Linked DNA regions of Homo sapiens: regions 1, 2 and 4 are each linked to region 3. Evidence: promoter capture Hi-C in human tissues and cell types (Jung and others, 2019). All regions are on one chromosome and are shown on one strand. The core of a region is centred on a gene start or on the middle of the fragment in contact, and the rest is flanking DNA. Distances in the headings are between cores, read along the strand shown.

Region 1 (3,232 bases), core at 5-2,504, 77 kb before region 3:
AGCAGCTGCTGACCAGGCCATGCTTCAAGTCGAAAGAAAGAAATGCCCTCCCCATCTGAGCTGAGCGCAGGTGAGACCTGCCGGCCGGTCCCTGGCCTCCAACCTCAGGGAGGGCAGCAGCAGGGGCTTGTCAGGGCACAGAGCTGGCCTGAGGAGTGGGGCAGGGACCACGTGAGCCCTTGAGACCTGGCCAAGGAGAAGGTGCCCTGGGGACAAAGTGCACGGGCTTAGCCCTGTGGGGGATTCCACCGCACGCATAGGTCAGGCCTGCCCCACCCTGGCTGAGCCTTGGTTTCTAGCAGCAGCGGCCATCCCATTCCACGCCGGCACATGAACACGTTTCAGGGCTGTTCTAAAGCCCCAGCGCACTGGCACGCGAAAGGCCCTGGCATGCGACGGGCATGCAAGAAAATTATCCATCCTTTCACCTGGCAACTTGCTGGGGCTAACCAGAAAATGCCAAGTAAGCTAGGTGAACCCACTCCATGCTTCTTCCACAAACAAAACAAAATGTGTTAAGTTAAAGGAACTGCTCCCGTCCGGGAGGTGAGGGGCGCCTCTGCCCGGCCGCCCCTACTGGGAAGTGAGGAGCCCCTCTGCCCGGCCACCACCCCGTCTGGGAGGTGTACCCAACAGCTCATTGAGAACGCGCCATGATGACAATGGCGGTTTTGTGGAATAGAAAGGGGGGAAAGGTGGGGAAAAGATTGAGAAATCGGATGGTTGCCGTGTCTGTGTAGAAAGAAGTAGACATGGGAGACTTTTCATTTTGTTCTGCACTAAGAAAAATTCCTCTGCCTTGGGATCCTGTTATCTGTGACCTTACCCCCAACCCCATATTGTCCTATGACCCTGCCAAATCCCCCTCTGCAAGAAACACCCAAGAATGATCAATAAAAAAAAATAAAAATAATAATAAAAAAAAAAAAAGGAACTGCCATTCTGAGCCAGGGTGCAAGGCTGTTCCGCTGGCCCTGCTGGTCACCAGGGACGTCTCCTGTCCCTCCCCCAGCTGGGCCGGGCAGAGTGGTGGCTGGAGGCGGGTGGCAAGGAGGGTAGGGATGGGGGCAGGGGGATCAGGAGGGGACCCTCCCCCGGGTCAGTGCTCGCCTCAAGACCCCAGGTGTCAGGACAAGGAGCTCCAGCTCTTCCCACTGAGCCTCGGGACCATCTCTGGGGCCATCTCCTGGCCATCCACTTCTCTGTTCCGGGACTGCCCTAACTTCCCAGTCCCAGCCCCACAGAGGGGGCTGCAGGAAAATGGGGTAGCATAAATGACACCCTCCGCGTTCAGACACCGCATCACAGCGCTCTCCCCTGTAGGACAAGGACGTACTCTTAACACGCCAGAGCGTCCTGAAGATCTTGGTGTCGAACAGCGGGGCCACGGCCATGATGATGACGGCAGCCAGGGCAGACTTGGGGATGTAGTAGAACAGTGAGGTCAGGTAGTCCAGAGACAGCAGCACCAGCACTCCTGCGGGGCACGGGAACACAGGTGACCTCGGGAGTGCAGGGTCCCCCCAGCACGCAGCGTAGCAGCCTCTTGTTCAGCAGAGCCCACTGGGGACAGGGGTGGGGGTAGGGCGACGACTGCCAAGGCCCCCAGCCCCTGCTCAGTCTCCTGTGGTCCCCCTACTCCTGTGTGGCCCCCCAAGTCCCTGTGCAGTCCCGGGGCGCACGGCCCATGAGCCAAAGGGACGTCTCTGTGGGCCCCCTCCTCCCTTTCTCCCACTCTCAGGGCTGCGGGCACAAGGGGAAGATGGGGGGCCTTACCCGTCACCAGGCCCCCCGCCGGGGTGCACACCCCCGACTGAGCGTTCACGGCTGTCCTGGAAGGCAACACAGAGACCGTCAGTCACCAGGGGCCGGGAAAAGGGAGACCTCAGTCCACACTCCTGTGGCTGATCTTCCGAGGGGACGTCAGCTCCCAGCACGGCTTGGGAAGCAGGCGGGGACTGCAAGGGGACCGAGGCAAAGAGACTTAGGGTGCAGTCACAGACAGCCGCGCTTGGGCCACCCTGACTATAGGAAGAAGCTCAGGAAGCACGTGTCCTTTCAGGTTCCTGCCGACTCTGTCTCCTGCCCCCATCCAGGTGGGGCCCCCATACCCAGCAGGGCAAGGGTCACCAGCTGGGGGACTGGGCAGTGCCAGGTGACGCCTCCTTCTCTCCTTTAAGCCACAGGTCACCTCCATCCTGTTGTCCTGACTGAGGAGGGGCCGTAGGGCATCTGGGCTAAGCTTCATGCCCGGCTGCTTCAGGACAGAGCCGAGGCCCTTCCTATCTCCACGTCCTTTCAGGAATTGACTCTGGCACCAGGAGCTAGGAGGGCTTTGGCGTGCTGGGAACTTTCTAGTATTTATTTTAGAGACAGGGTCTCGCTCTGTTGCCCAGGCTGGAGTGCAGCGGTGCGGTCACAACTCACTGCAGCCTCATCCTGCTGGGCTCAAGCGATTCTCCTGCTTCCGCCTCCAGAGTAAATGGGATAACAAGGGTGTACCACAATGCCCAGTGGAACTTTCTAGTATGAAACTGCAGGACGATCTATGAGAATAAAGAAACAGAGAACACCCTGGAGGACAGTGGGTGACCCCCAGCCCTGCCTCTCCACGGAGCGTTCACAGTGGAGGACGGGGCGCCGGGGTCAGGGCAGGCAGACTCCTTGTCAGCGTAACAACGTTAGGGCGTCCAACGTGGGCAAACAGAAGAGGCGGACAGGTCACTCACCGTCCAAAGCTGCCTGTGACCGGGTAGGAGGAGACGAGGGAGCCCAACATGTTGGTGAGACCTGGGGAGGAGGCAAGACAGGCTGATCGTGGAGGGAAGGCACACAGGATGGAGGGAAAGGAGATGGGGAGGGGGACAAAAACCCAGAAGGGAGGCAGGAAGGCAGGGCTCGGGAGAATCATCCTGGGGGCCTGGGCCTACGCACTCCTTCAGGGAAGGAAGAAAACAGGCCACATTCTTGCAGACGTAAAGCCTAGCCTTTTTTTTTTTTTTTTTTTTTTTGAGACAGAGTCTGGCTTTGTTGCCCAGGCTGGAATGCAGTGGCGCGATCTCAGCTCACTGCAGCCTCCGCCTCCCAGTTCAAGCGATTCTCCTGCCTCAGCCTCCTGAGTAGCTGGGATTACAGGCACACACTACCACGCCTGGCTAATTTCTGTATTTTTAGTACAGACAGAGTTTTGCCATGTTGGCCAGGCTGGTCTCAAACTCCTGACCTCAGTGAT
Region 2 (3,654 bases), core at 414-2,913, 130 kb before region 3:
ATCATTATAACCTCGAACTCTTGGGCTCAAGGGATCCTCCTGCCTCAGCCTCTCCAGTGCTGGAATTACAGGTGCACCACCACACCCAGCTAGCTACATTTTTTTTTTTTTTTTTTTGAGACGGAGTCTCACTCTGTTGCCCAGGCTGGAGCGCAGTGGCACGATCTTGGCTCACTGCAAGCTCTGCCTCTCGGGTTCACGCCATTCTCCTGCCTCAGCCTCCCGAGTAGCTGGGACTACAGGTGCCCGCCACCATGCCTGGCTAGTTTTTTGTATTTTTTGTAGAGACAGGGTTTCACTGTGTTGGCCGGCTCTATTTTTTATTTTAATTTTTGTTTCCCAGACTGATCCTGAACTCCTGGCTCAAGCAATCCCTCCTGCCTCAGCCTCCCAAAGCACTGGGATTACAGGTGTGAGCCATAATGCCCGGCCAAAACAACTTTTTTTTTTTTTTGAGATGAAGTCTCACTGTGTCGCCCAGGCTGGAGTGCAGTGGCACAATCTCGGCTCACTGCAACCTCCGCCTCCTGGGTTCACGTGATTCTCCTGCCTCAGCCTCCTGAGTAGCTGGGATTACAGGCATGCACCACCACGCCCGGCTAAATTTTGTATTTTTAGTAGAGACAGTGTTTCACCATGTTGGTCAGGCTGGTCTCGAACTCCTGACCTTGTGATCCGCCTGCCTCGACCTCCCAAAGTGCTGGGATTACAGGCGTGAGCCACCGTGCCCGGCCCCAAAACAACTTTTTAAACGTAAGGGTTGAGCCTATAAACAATACATGGTGAATCTCCTACAGTCAAAAGATATTAATGATTCCTCATACTTTAAGCCCCGGCACTAACTCTGTACATTGCCTTTGCCTCCACTCCTCCTCTTTGTCAAAATGTGCGGCGTTTATTTGGTTGTTTTTTATTTGTAAAACCAGGCCAGGCACAGTGGCTCATGTCTATAATCCCAGCACTTTGGGAGGTCGAGGCAGGCGGATCACAAGGTCAGGAGCTCAAGACCACCGTGGCAACATGGTGAAACCCCGTCTCTACAATAAATACAAAAATTAGCTGGAAGTGGTGGTGTGTATCTGCAGTCCCAGCTACTCAGGAGGCTGAGGTGGGAGAACCACCTGAGTCTGTGAGGCTGAAGCTGCAGTGAGCTGATTGCTCCACTGCACTCCAGACTGGGGGAACAGAGTAAGACACTGTCTCAAAACAACAAATAAATAAATGTGTAAAACTGAGAGGCAGATGTCGTGATAAGACATGCTGGTCAGGAAAGGCTACCTAATGTCATTCTCACGTTCAAATCAACACACGCAGAGAGAGTGCAGAGCTCAGTGGGGTCTGAGCAGGTACCAAGTCAAAGGCCATCGCCTTCTCACCACTGAACATTTCAGGCCCAGGACAGTCACACTGTGTTTCCTGAACTAGACACGGCACAGGCAGGGGCATGGGGAGAACATTCACGCTGCTTCTGCAGATGTCCTTGAGGGGATGAGTTCAGGCTGGCGTCACGCCACAACCTCCTAAACACGCGCACACAGAGGCTGCTCATGATACCACACGAAGCTTCAAAAAGCAGGGTATTCAGACCCAGCACGGTGGCTCACGCCTACAATCCTAGCACTTTGGGAGGCCGAGGTGGGTGGATCACTTGAGGTCAGGAGTTCGAAACCAGCCTGGCCAAAATGGTGAAAACCCTTCTCTACTAAAAATACAAAAATTAGCCATGTGTGGTAGTGTGCACCTGTAGTCCCTGCTACTAAGGAGGCTGAAGCAGGAGAATTGCCTAAACCTGGGAGGTGGAGGCTGCAGTGAGCCAAGATTGCGCCACTGTACTCCAGCCTGGGCCACAGAGTGAGACGCCGTCTGGGGGGAAAACAAAAGGCAGGGAATTCAACAGAGGACAGAATATAATAAAAATAAGACAGATGCTAGGAAAAACTACTGACATGACCACAGTGAGTGGTAAAATCACGGGTGGTTTTATTTCTTGCCTGTGTGCTTTCAGTCACTCTAGTCAAGCACTTATTTTTGCAATCAGAGAAAATCATTATAATAGCTATAAAAAACATTTTGACAAAAAATAATAATACCTCTGAGGTATCCCAAGGATGTGGCTTAGGTCACGGTGAAACTCATCTGGTGAGCTGGCATCTGAGGTTAGGAGGTGACACAACCAGTCCAGGCTGCCTTCTAATAAAAGCTCAATTTTTTCCACTACAAAAAGGACAATCAGGCCTGTTTTCAGTTTACTCCTCACTGGGCAGTCCACAGGCAAAAAGTCCGTGCTTTTTCCGTCCGGCAATGGTACCACGTGTTTTTTCAGATGTTGCCACAGGTATCTCTTCACCTGATGGTGGGAGAAGAGGAAGATGCATGAACCATGGACTTGAATTCACCGGCAGTGTCCAGAGCTGCCCCAGCACCACAGCTAGGGCAGCAGACCCCATCCGTGCCCCACCACCACACCTGTGAGAGCCACAGGAGGAGCTGCAGTGCAGCCAAGACCCTGGCATGAGGGCTCAGGCAGGGCCCCTGAGGCTCATCAGGGCTCAGCTTCAGCTCAGAAACAGCTCCAGGCCGGCCTGAAACCCACCCAGGCTGCACCGCAGTGTGGGTAAAGGTGCAGTGACAGAGGGTGCCCCGTTCCTTCCACTCTCCCTCCAAGGCCAGGGGAGGACTCAGGACTGGTGCTGGGGTGGGGCTGAGATTACAACCAGTAAAAGGAGGAAAATGGGGGAGGGCAGAGAAATCCCAAGAGACAGTGGTAGGAGAAAAGGCTGGAAAGTTCTACACATTCCCATTTGCAACCTGGCCCACAGAGTCAAGGGGTCATCCGGCCACTAGCAGGTCAGGTGTGGCTCCTGCCCAGCAGGTAGAGCAGCTGGTGGCAAGCCTGATACCTCTTTCTCCCTGTACTGCAAATCGGTCCACAGCTGTGCCTGTCCTTCATAAATCATAGGCTGTTGCAGGACAAAGCAAAACTGCTCGAACTGGGTGAAGAAGCTGTTCAGGTTGATGGTGTCCCAGGTCTGCAGGATGCTGAAGGTGCTGTCCAGCATGAGCGCAGCGGCAATCTGCTTCCCCTTCACCAGGTCCTTCCTCGGCCCGTCTGTGATGTGGTTCATGACTTTCTGGAGTCTCCCATGAGGCTTCATATAAACTATGTCATAGTACTGATGCCAGTCTAAGAGGGACAGAAGGAACAAGAGCCTACCTAAGACCATCAAAACCCTGGAGACCTAGACACTAGCCTAGAAGGCTGATCACGACTGGTACAGATATGGAGTAAATGGGGCAGAGGAAGGGAGGAAGGGAAAAGCAAAAACCCACACACTGACGACAGCCAGACTCCTCCAACTGACTTCTCATCTGAGGCCAGCCCCGTGCAAACAGACATCCTAGACGTCCCACAGTAATGAGTGGAAAGCCCAGGGTCATGGGATGCAGCGGGCCTGAGACTTGCAACGGATCTCTAACTATGTAGCTCAGCAAACTTGATCAACAACTTCCTTAAACATCATCACAAGGAGGTGGAATGTGTCATACAGAAACCGCATCCCCCCACTAGCAAGTGAGCACTGTCCTGGTCAATCACTGAGTTGGTTTCCTCTGTACTAGGAACGGGACACAGCCCCTGGAGGAAGGTGCAGGCTG
Region 3 (3,481 bases), core at 225-2,724:
AAACAAAACAAAAAACCTTAGGGCTGGGCACAGTGGCTCAGGCCTGTAATCCCAGCACTTTGGAGGCCAAGGCAGGAGGATTGCTTGAGCTCAAGAGTTCAAGGCTGCAGTGAGCTATGATTGTGCCACTGCCCTCCAGCCTGGGTGACAGAGCAAGACCCTGGCTCAAAAAAAGGAAAAGAAAGAAAGAGAGAGAGAGAGAAAGAAAGAAAGAAAAGAAGAAAAGAAAGAGAGAGGAAGGAAGGGAAGGAGAGAGAGAAGGAAGGAAGGAAGGAAGGAAGGAAGGAAGGAAGGAAGGGAGGGAGGGAGGGAGGGAGGGAGGGAGGGAGGAAGGGGAGGGGAAGGGGAAGGTGAATGGGAAGGCGCCAGGAGCCGTGGCTCACGCCCGTAATCCCAGCACTTTGGGAGACCAAGATGGGCGGATTACCTGAAGTCAGGAGTTTGAGACCAGCCTAGCCAACGTGACAAAACCCTGTCTCTACTAAAAATAAAAAAATTAACCAGGTGTGGTGGCGTGCACCTATAGTCCCAGCTACTTGGGAGACTGAGGCAGGAGAATCACCTGAACCCAGGAGGCAGAAATTGCAGTGAGCCGAGATTGTGCCACTGCAACTCTAGCCTGGGCGACAGAGGGAGACTTCTGAAAAAGGAGAGAAGAGGGGAGGGGAGGAGAGGGGAGAGGAGGGGAGGGGAGAGGAGGGGAGGGGACGGGAGGGGAGGGGACGGGAGGGGAGGGGAGGGCCCAGAGATCTCTAATTCCAAACTCTGAATCTAACTGTACAGCAATTCTAGAAGAGCCTAAGATCATAAAATCCTGAGCATCTAAGATGTGGGTTCTCCTTATTTGACCCCTCCCAGGTCAACATCCTTCTCCTAACCCAAGTGTCAGTCTCTTCCCTTGCCAGTGAAGTAGGGAAGAAGGCATGTACACATACACACACGCACACGCACACACACACATGTACATACCCCATGGGGGGCAGAGGGTCACAAGCCCAGGAGGAGGGGGCACAGCTCACCTCGGCCCCCCAGTGCCATGACAGGCTGGCTGTGCCTCTGCTACCAACAGCAGCCAGCTGGTCTTGCTCACTTTGTTCTGAACTTAGACACCTTCCTTCTGCTGTCTTTCATCCCACGGCAATAGCGAAGAGATGAGAGTATAAAACAGAGATCCCTTTCATCTAGCATGACCCATGCTGTTTTAAGGCAGAACTCAGCATTCAGAGAATGTTCCAGTGATTGACCCAGCAACACAGACAAGCCGTTTTCTGTTCTCTAGTCCACATACAAGGCAGCTCCTCCACTCCTGATGAGGAAGATGCCGGCCCCTCCCACTCCCCTGGGACCACTCTCGGGCCCCATCAGACCTGTGTCGGCTGAGCCCCTCCGTAGGCTGAGCCCTCCGTAGGCTGACCTGCTCTTCGCCGGATGGACTGCGCGCACTTACCTTCCCCCTCCCAGGGAAGCGAGGACTGAATGTGGCCCAATCTCTGGCTGAACTGAACGGCAGTGGACAAGCAGGTTTGACAGGCACATCCCACAGGAGCAGTGCCTTATATGGGGCTTCTATGAGCCATCGAAGCACCAGTGCAGTCCCACAGCTAGACATTGCCGTAAGAACCACAGGGATGGCTGAGAACAGTCCGTGCATCTGGTCGACCCACAGAAGATGGTGATTGAGGGTGATTGAGGGGAAGGCTTCAGGCTTGGGGGCTGGGAATCCTCTCTCCTTTGTGAACGGTCACCCAGTTCATCATCATTTCTACCCTTGGGAAAATCCTACGAAGATCAGGATAAATTCTAGGGCCTTTCTTGGTTCTCATGATCCATTATTGGAAGTATCTGAATAATTCCAATAGATCCATCTCAAGTTAACATTTCATAACTATTGTTTAGATTTAGATGAAAGTCTTGGTCCTCCACCTTGAGATATGTCTAGAATCCGATCCATTCTCACCACCTGCATTGTGGTGTCCTGATCATGGCCCACCGGGACCTCTGTAATGGCTCCTAACTTCTTCCCACGCCCCCATCACCAGCGCTCAACACAGCAGACAGAGAAGTCCTGCTAGGGCATGAGTCAGCTCCTGTCATTCCCTTCGGTGTACAGGTCCTGGAGTCCTCAGCGTGACCATGAGGCTCTGCTTATCAGGTCCTTGCTGACCTTATCTCTCTTTTACCTGCTCCAGACACACAGCCCAACAGTCTTGACAGTCCAGGCACACTTCTGCCCCAGGGCCTTTGCACCTGCTGTTCCCACTGCCTGGAACACTCTTTCCCATCCCTCCTTCCAGACTCTACTCAAATGCTACTTCCCAGATCATCCTACTTAAGTCCGTAGACCTCCCATCCTGGCCTTCACTCCCCTTCCCTGTTCCATCTTCTCTGTGGGAATACTGCCTTGACCTAACGTGTATTCTAGTTACGTGGCTTCCTGCCAGCCTCCCCACTCCACAGTAACCTACTGAGGACAATAATTCTTGTCTTTCTTGTTCCCTGCTGTGTCCCCACCCCTAGGGCTGTGATATTCCACAAATATTGGTTGAGCGAATGAATAAACATTGGTTAGGGGCTTGGTTCCCAATGATGCAGACACTGAAAGAAGGGAAATTCACAGGTCCATGGCCTGAGAACCTTCAGGATTATCCTGCGGACAATCAAAGATCGGCCTTCAAGGTCATGTAGCTCATGGTGGCTGAGCAGTAGCTCCAACCCAAATCTCCTGGTGATGAGCCGGCTGAAGGCACAGCCAGTTGGGCAGAGCAAGTGAGAACGCAGGCCGAGGCCAGGTGCAGACATGAACTCTCCAACCAGGGTTACAGCCCCACTGGGTGTCAGCTTCCCCTCAGGCAGTTCATTTAAGCCCCTAAGGCTCAGCTCTCTTAGTTTCCTCCAGCAGACCTCATGATAAGCCCTCCCCCACAGTGGGGAAGCTTGCCAGCTCATCACACTGTGCCAGCCACACAGAGAATTCTAGTTACAGAAAACGCAAAGAAATGCCGCCATTCCCAGTAAAAGAGGGGGGCAGAAGAATGCACTGGAGATGGGAGGAGCCTCCCTAAGAACAGAAATAGCCATAGAAATAGTCAAGGTGCAGCCATAGAAAGGAATGAAGGGCCTTTGCAGAGACATGGATGAAGCTGGAAGCCATCATTCTCAGCAAACTAACATGGGAACAGAAACCCAAACACTGCATGTTCTCACTCATAAGTGGGAGCTGAACAATGAGAACACATGGACACAGGGAGGGGAACAACACACACTGGGGCCTATGGTAGGGGGAGTGGAGGGAGAGCATCAGGACAAATAGCTAATGCACGTGGGGCTTAAAACCTAGGTGATGGGTTGACAGGTGTAGCAAACCACCATGGCACATGTCTACTTATGTAACAAACCTGCACATTCTGCACATGTATCCCGGAACCTAAAATAAAATAAAATAAAAAGAAACAGTCAAGGAAGCCACAACCCTGAAGGACCC
Region 4 (3,591 bases), core at 517-3,016, 100 kb before region 3:
GTGCAGAAGGGGCAGCTCTGCTGCTGCCCTGTGGGCAGGTTCAATGGGCTGGGCCATGGTGGCATTTTCGGGGGCTAGCTGGGCAGCTGTGCAGTGAGATTTTCCTGGGCAGAGTGAGCGGGGGCGGAGGGGAGCCGAGGCAGTGCACTCACTTCTTGGACGGTCCAGGAGGCTTTGGAACAGGGCTCCTCGGGGTTTTCTTGCCAACTGTCTGAGCCCGGGAACAAGCACGGGCCCCCTTCCTCCTTCAGCTCCTGCCCACACTCCATTTCACCCTCCGAGGCCGACGCCATTGTGGAGTTATTGTTCTCAGAATCTGTAACGGCAGATGAAGGAAGGGTCAGATCTCAGAGAGAAGCGAGTGTTAGGAAGGAAAAACAGAAATCCTCCCCACGAGTGCATGGAGAGATTCACCCTGTTCTCCCTCCGAGGTCCTGCATTGGGCCTGCTAACATGAGCAGGGTAGGGGTTCTGCTCCAGGTGGGTAGGAGGGAACCAGGGACCCCAGTTTCAGCACAACAAGGGGTGAATCAGACAGAAAGACTGTGCCGTCCTAGCATCCAGCCTCTTCCTCCCAATGTCCACGAGTGGATTCACCTGACTCTGTACTAGGATGTCAGCGCACCTCGGGCACCTCTAAAACAGAGCCTGTTACGCTTTCCTCCCCTACTGTAGACATTCCTCCTGTCTTCCCCAGGGTGGGCATTCTCCCAGTGGCGGCCCAGGGGTCTCAAACTGCTTCCCTTGTCCTGGCACTAAGGCATCTGCCCGCCCAGCTGCTCTGCCTCCAGATTCTCACCCATGCAGAGCTGCCATGCAGACAGCATGGAGCACCCACTCTGCCAGCCCCACACTCACTCTAGCCTTCATTGTGGTGTGGACGCACTTTGTCCATCCCCACCAAAACTCATGTTGATCCCCAGTATGCCAGTGCTGGGAGGCAGGGCTGCGGGGAGGTCTGTGGGTCGTGAGGGCAAATCCCTCACGAATGGCTTGGTGCCGTTTGCGGTCATGGGTTTACTCTTGAGAGGCTTGTTTACTCCCCTCGGGAATGGATTAGCACCCGCCAGGTGGGTTGTTATGAAGTCAAGATGTCCCATCAGGCTTAGTCTTTCACAGCTGTCAGCATCCCCGTCGGCCTACTCTGCCATGTGGCACAAAAGCCCTCACCAGACATCAGGGCCAGGCCCTGAACTTCTCAGTCTGCAGAACTGTGAGCTAAATAAACCTCTTTTTTCTTTTTCTTTTTTTATTTTATTTTATTATTTTTTTTGAGACAGAGTCTTGCTCTGTCGCCCAGGCTGGAGTGCAGAGGCACAATCTTGGCTCACTGCAACCTCTGCCTCCCAGGTTCAAGCAATTCTCCTGCCTCGGCCTCCCAAGTAGCTGGGATTACAGGTGCATGCCACCACACCCGGCTAATTTTTGTGTTTTTAGTAGAGACAGGGGTTTCAGCATCTTGGCCAGGATGGTCTTGAACTCCTGACCTCATGATCCACCCGTCTTGCCCTCTCAAAGTGCTGGGATTACAGGTGTGAGCCACCCCACCCGGCCTCTTTTCTTTTTTCTTCTTTTTTGAGACGGAGTCTCGCTCTGTCACCCAGGCTGGAGTGCAGTGGTGCAATCTCGGCTCACTGCAACCTCCACCTCCTGGGTTCAAGTGATTCTCCTGCCTCAGCCTCTGGAGTAGCTGGGATTACAGGCATGCGCCACCACACCCAGCTAATTTTTTTTGTATTTTTAGTAGAGACGGGGTTTCACCATGTTGGTCAGGCTGGTCTTGAACTCCTGACCTCGTGATCCGCCCACCTCGGCCTCCCAAAGTGCTGGGATTACAGGCTTGAGCCACCACACCCGGCCTTTTCTTTTTCAATTACCCAGGCTCGGGTACTCTTATGGCAACAGAAAATGGACGAAAACACCCTTCAAGGAGTCCCTGTTTTCAATCCTGGGTCTGGACGACCCCACCTCTCCCTGACACACACTCCAGATGGTGCCAGGCCAAGCCTGCTTTTCTGTACAGAACCTTCCCTCTGCCTGATCCCCACAGACCCTTCTCCAAGGCCCCAAGCCAGTCCCAGCTGCGCCCCTGTCTGGACACTTCATCCCCACGCCCGTTTCCAGCACCTGGTTTCGTCACTGCCCTCTCCTCCTCTGAGATCTGGAGGGCAGGGACCACGCAGACCTTTTTCCCTTTGAGTACTCAGTGTTGGCGTAGCCAAGAGCTCAAGAATTCGTGAAGTTCCTTAGCAGGACTCAAAATTGATAACAAATCCTCTAAACGTCTACATACATAAGACACACATGAAACATCACAGCCAGAAAGTAAGAGCTGGAGAAAGATCTGCAACAGGCGACCCAAGGCCCCATCCTTCGAGAGCTGCTGTTTCACCTACAACCAGGGATTCTGAGCCTGCCCCTCCCACCAACCTACCCTCCCACCAACCTACCCTCCCACCAGGGGCGGGCCCTGACTAGCCTAATCCAATCAGGGCCGATATTTACCCTGGCACTAGTGATTGACTAAGGGAAGGGCCAACCAGCAAGAAGTATGGAAGCATCCATACTTCTGGACCCTTACTGGGGTTTCTGCCACTCAGTGCATCCTGGAAAGACCATGAGGTGGTGCTGGGAAACCACTGTCTGTTCTCCTCCACCTGCAGACAAAGCTGGCAGTGGAGAAGGGCAGAGCTGTCAGGATCAGAGAAATGGAGCAAAGCCCTAGTACACTTGAACCCCTCAAGCCTGGACTTGGGCAACGGTGACCCAGCACGTTTCTCTTGCTGAGCAAGCCTAGGAGAGCTGGGTTTCAGGCTGTTCCCAGTATAAACAGTCCCAACAATCATAAGGACCAACCAAAGCAAAACGAGCTTCCCTAAAGACAGACAGGCCGCTCAAGGAAATACACATACATGTGGTCTCTTAACTTCCAAAGAGATGCCTGCCATGCCTACTGATGAAGGAAATCAGAACGGAGGCCCTGCAGTGCCATTTCCACCCAACGACCGGCACAGATTGACAAGATCCATCATTCTGAACGCTGGAGAGAATCTGAATAGAAATCTAGAAGGCAGGGAGCACAGAGACGCGGCCAGTGAGTGGCCAGAGAAGCTTTGTGCAGGGGATTTGAAGAGATTTGCATTGTAAATGTGCCAGCCTGAAGCCAGCAGGCTAGTGGCTGGGAATCTGTCCTCCAGACGGCCAGCCTGGCTCAGAGGGCAAGGTCTCCGTGCAAGCATGCAGCCTAGCAGCCTATGTCACGGCAAAACAGCAGGACAAGGGAAGTGCCCAGGATAGGCCTGTTGCTGAGTCAGGCCCTGCTGGGTGGCAGAGCCAGGGAGGCTGCTGAGGTCCGTCCTCCACTAGAGGCCTCAGCCACTGTACATGAAAGTAGCAAGGCATGCGCAGGGCACGAGCTGCCACTCACATTAACGTGTGTGTGTGTGCGCACACATTCACGCAGAGGAGATGTCTAGAAGAGGACACACCAGTTTACAGTGTTGCTCTGGGGAATGTGACAGTCCTGGCCCAGGGTGAGGAAACTTCGTGCTATTTTATGTCCTCCTGTAACATGTGGGTCATTTGCCAACC

Evidence for each region. The method cuts DNA at HindIII sites, captures the fragments that hold promoters and counts their contacts. A contact is called where the count stands out against the background at its distance.
Region 1: a fragment that was not itself captured here is called in contact with the fragment with the promoter of CARD14 in region 3 in 3 of the 25 tissues and cell types used here (lymphoblastoid cells, spleen and stomach).
Region 2: a fragment that was not itself captured here is called in contact with the fragment with the promoter of CARD14 in region 3 in 3 of the 25 tissues and cell types used here (lymphoblastoid cells, mesenchymal stem cells and spleen).
Region 4: a contact is called between a fragment that was not itself captured here and the fragment with the promoter of CARD14 in region 3, in 2 of the 25 tissues and cell types used here (lymphoblastoid cells and spleen).

Annotation. Positions count from the first base shown.
Region 1 is chr17:80,244,754-80,247,985 of GRCh38, reverse strand. SLC26A11 (solute carrier family 26 member 11) reads right to left here. Exons shown (of 18, transcript NM_001166347.2): 11 at 2,730-2,790; 12 at 1,777-1,832; 13 at 1,337-1,477. Among named protein-coding and RNA genes, the nearest start is that of RNF213, 14 kb to the left of the region's middle. The HindIII fragment of the contact is 7,646 bases long and covers 1-3,232 here.
Region 2 is chr17:80,294,250-80,297,903 of GRCh38, reverse strand. It overlaps RNF213 (ring finger protein 213), which reads right to left. Exons shown (of 68, transcript NM_001256071.3): 9 at 2,901-3,184; 10 at 2,091-2,347. Among named protein-coding and RNA genes, the nearest start is that of RNF213, 35 kb to the right of the region's middle. The HindIII fragment of the contact is 5,200 bases long and covers 1-3,654 here.
Region 3 is chr17:80,168,023-80,171,503 of GRCh38, reverse strand. CARD14 (caspase recruitment domain family member 14) reads right to left here and starts at 1,474. Exons shown (of 24, transcript NM_001366385.1): 1 at 1,448-1,474. The HindIII fragment of the contact is 21,960 bases long and covers 1-3,481 here.
Region 4 is chr17:80,269,966-80,273,556 of GRCh38, reverse strand. It overlaps RNF213 (ring finger protein 213), which reads right to left. Exons shown (of 68, transcript NM_001256071.3): 3 at 153-316. Among named protein-coding and RNA genes, the nearest start is that of RNF213, 11 kb to the right of the region's middle. RefSeq lists a silencer at 2,409-2,458. The HindIII fragment of the contact is 4,608 bases long and covers 1-3,591 here.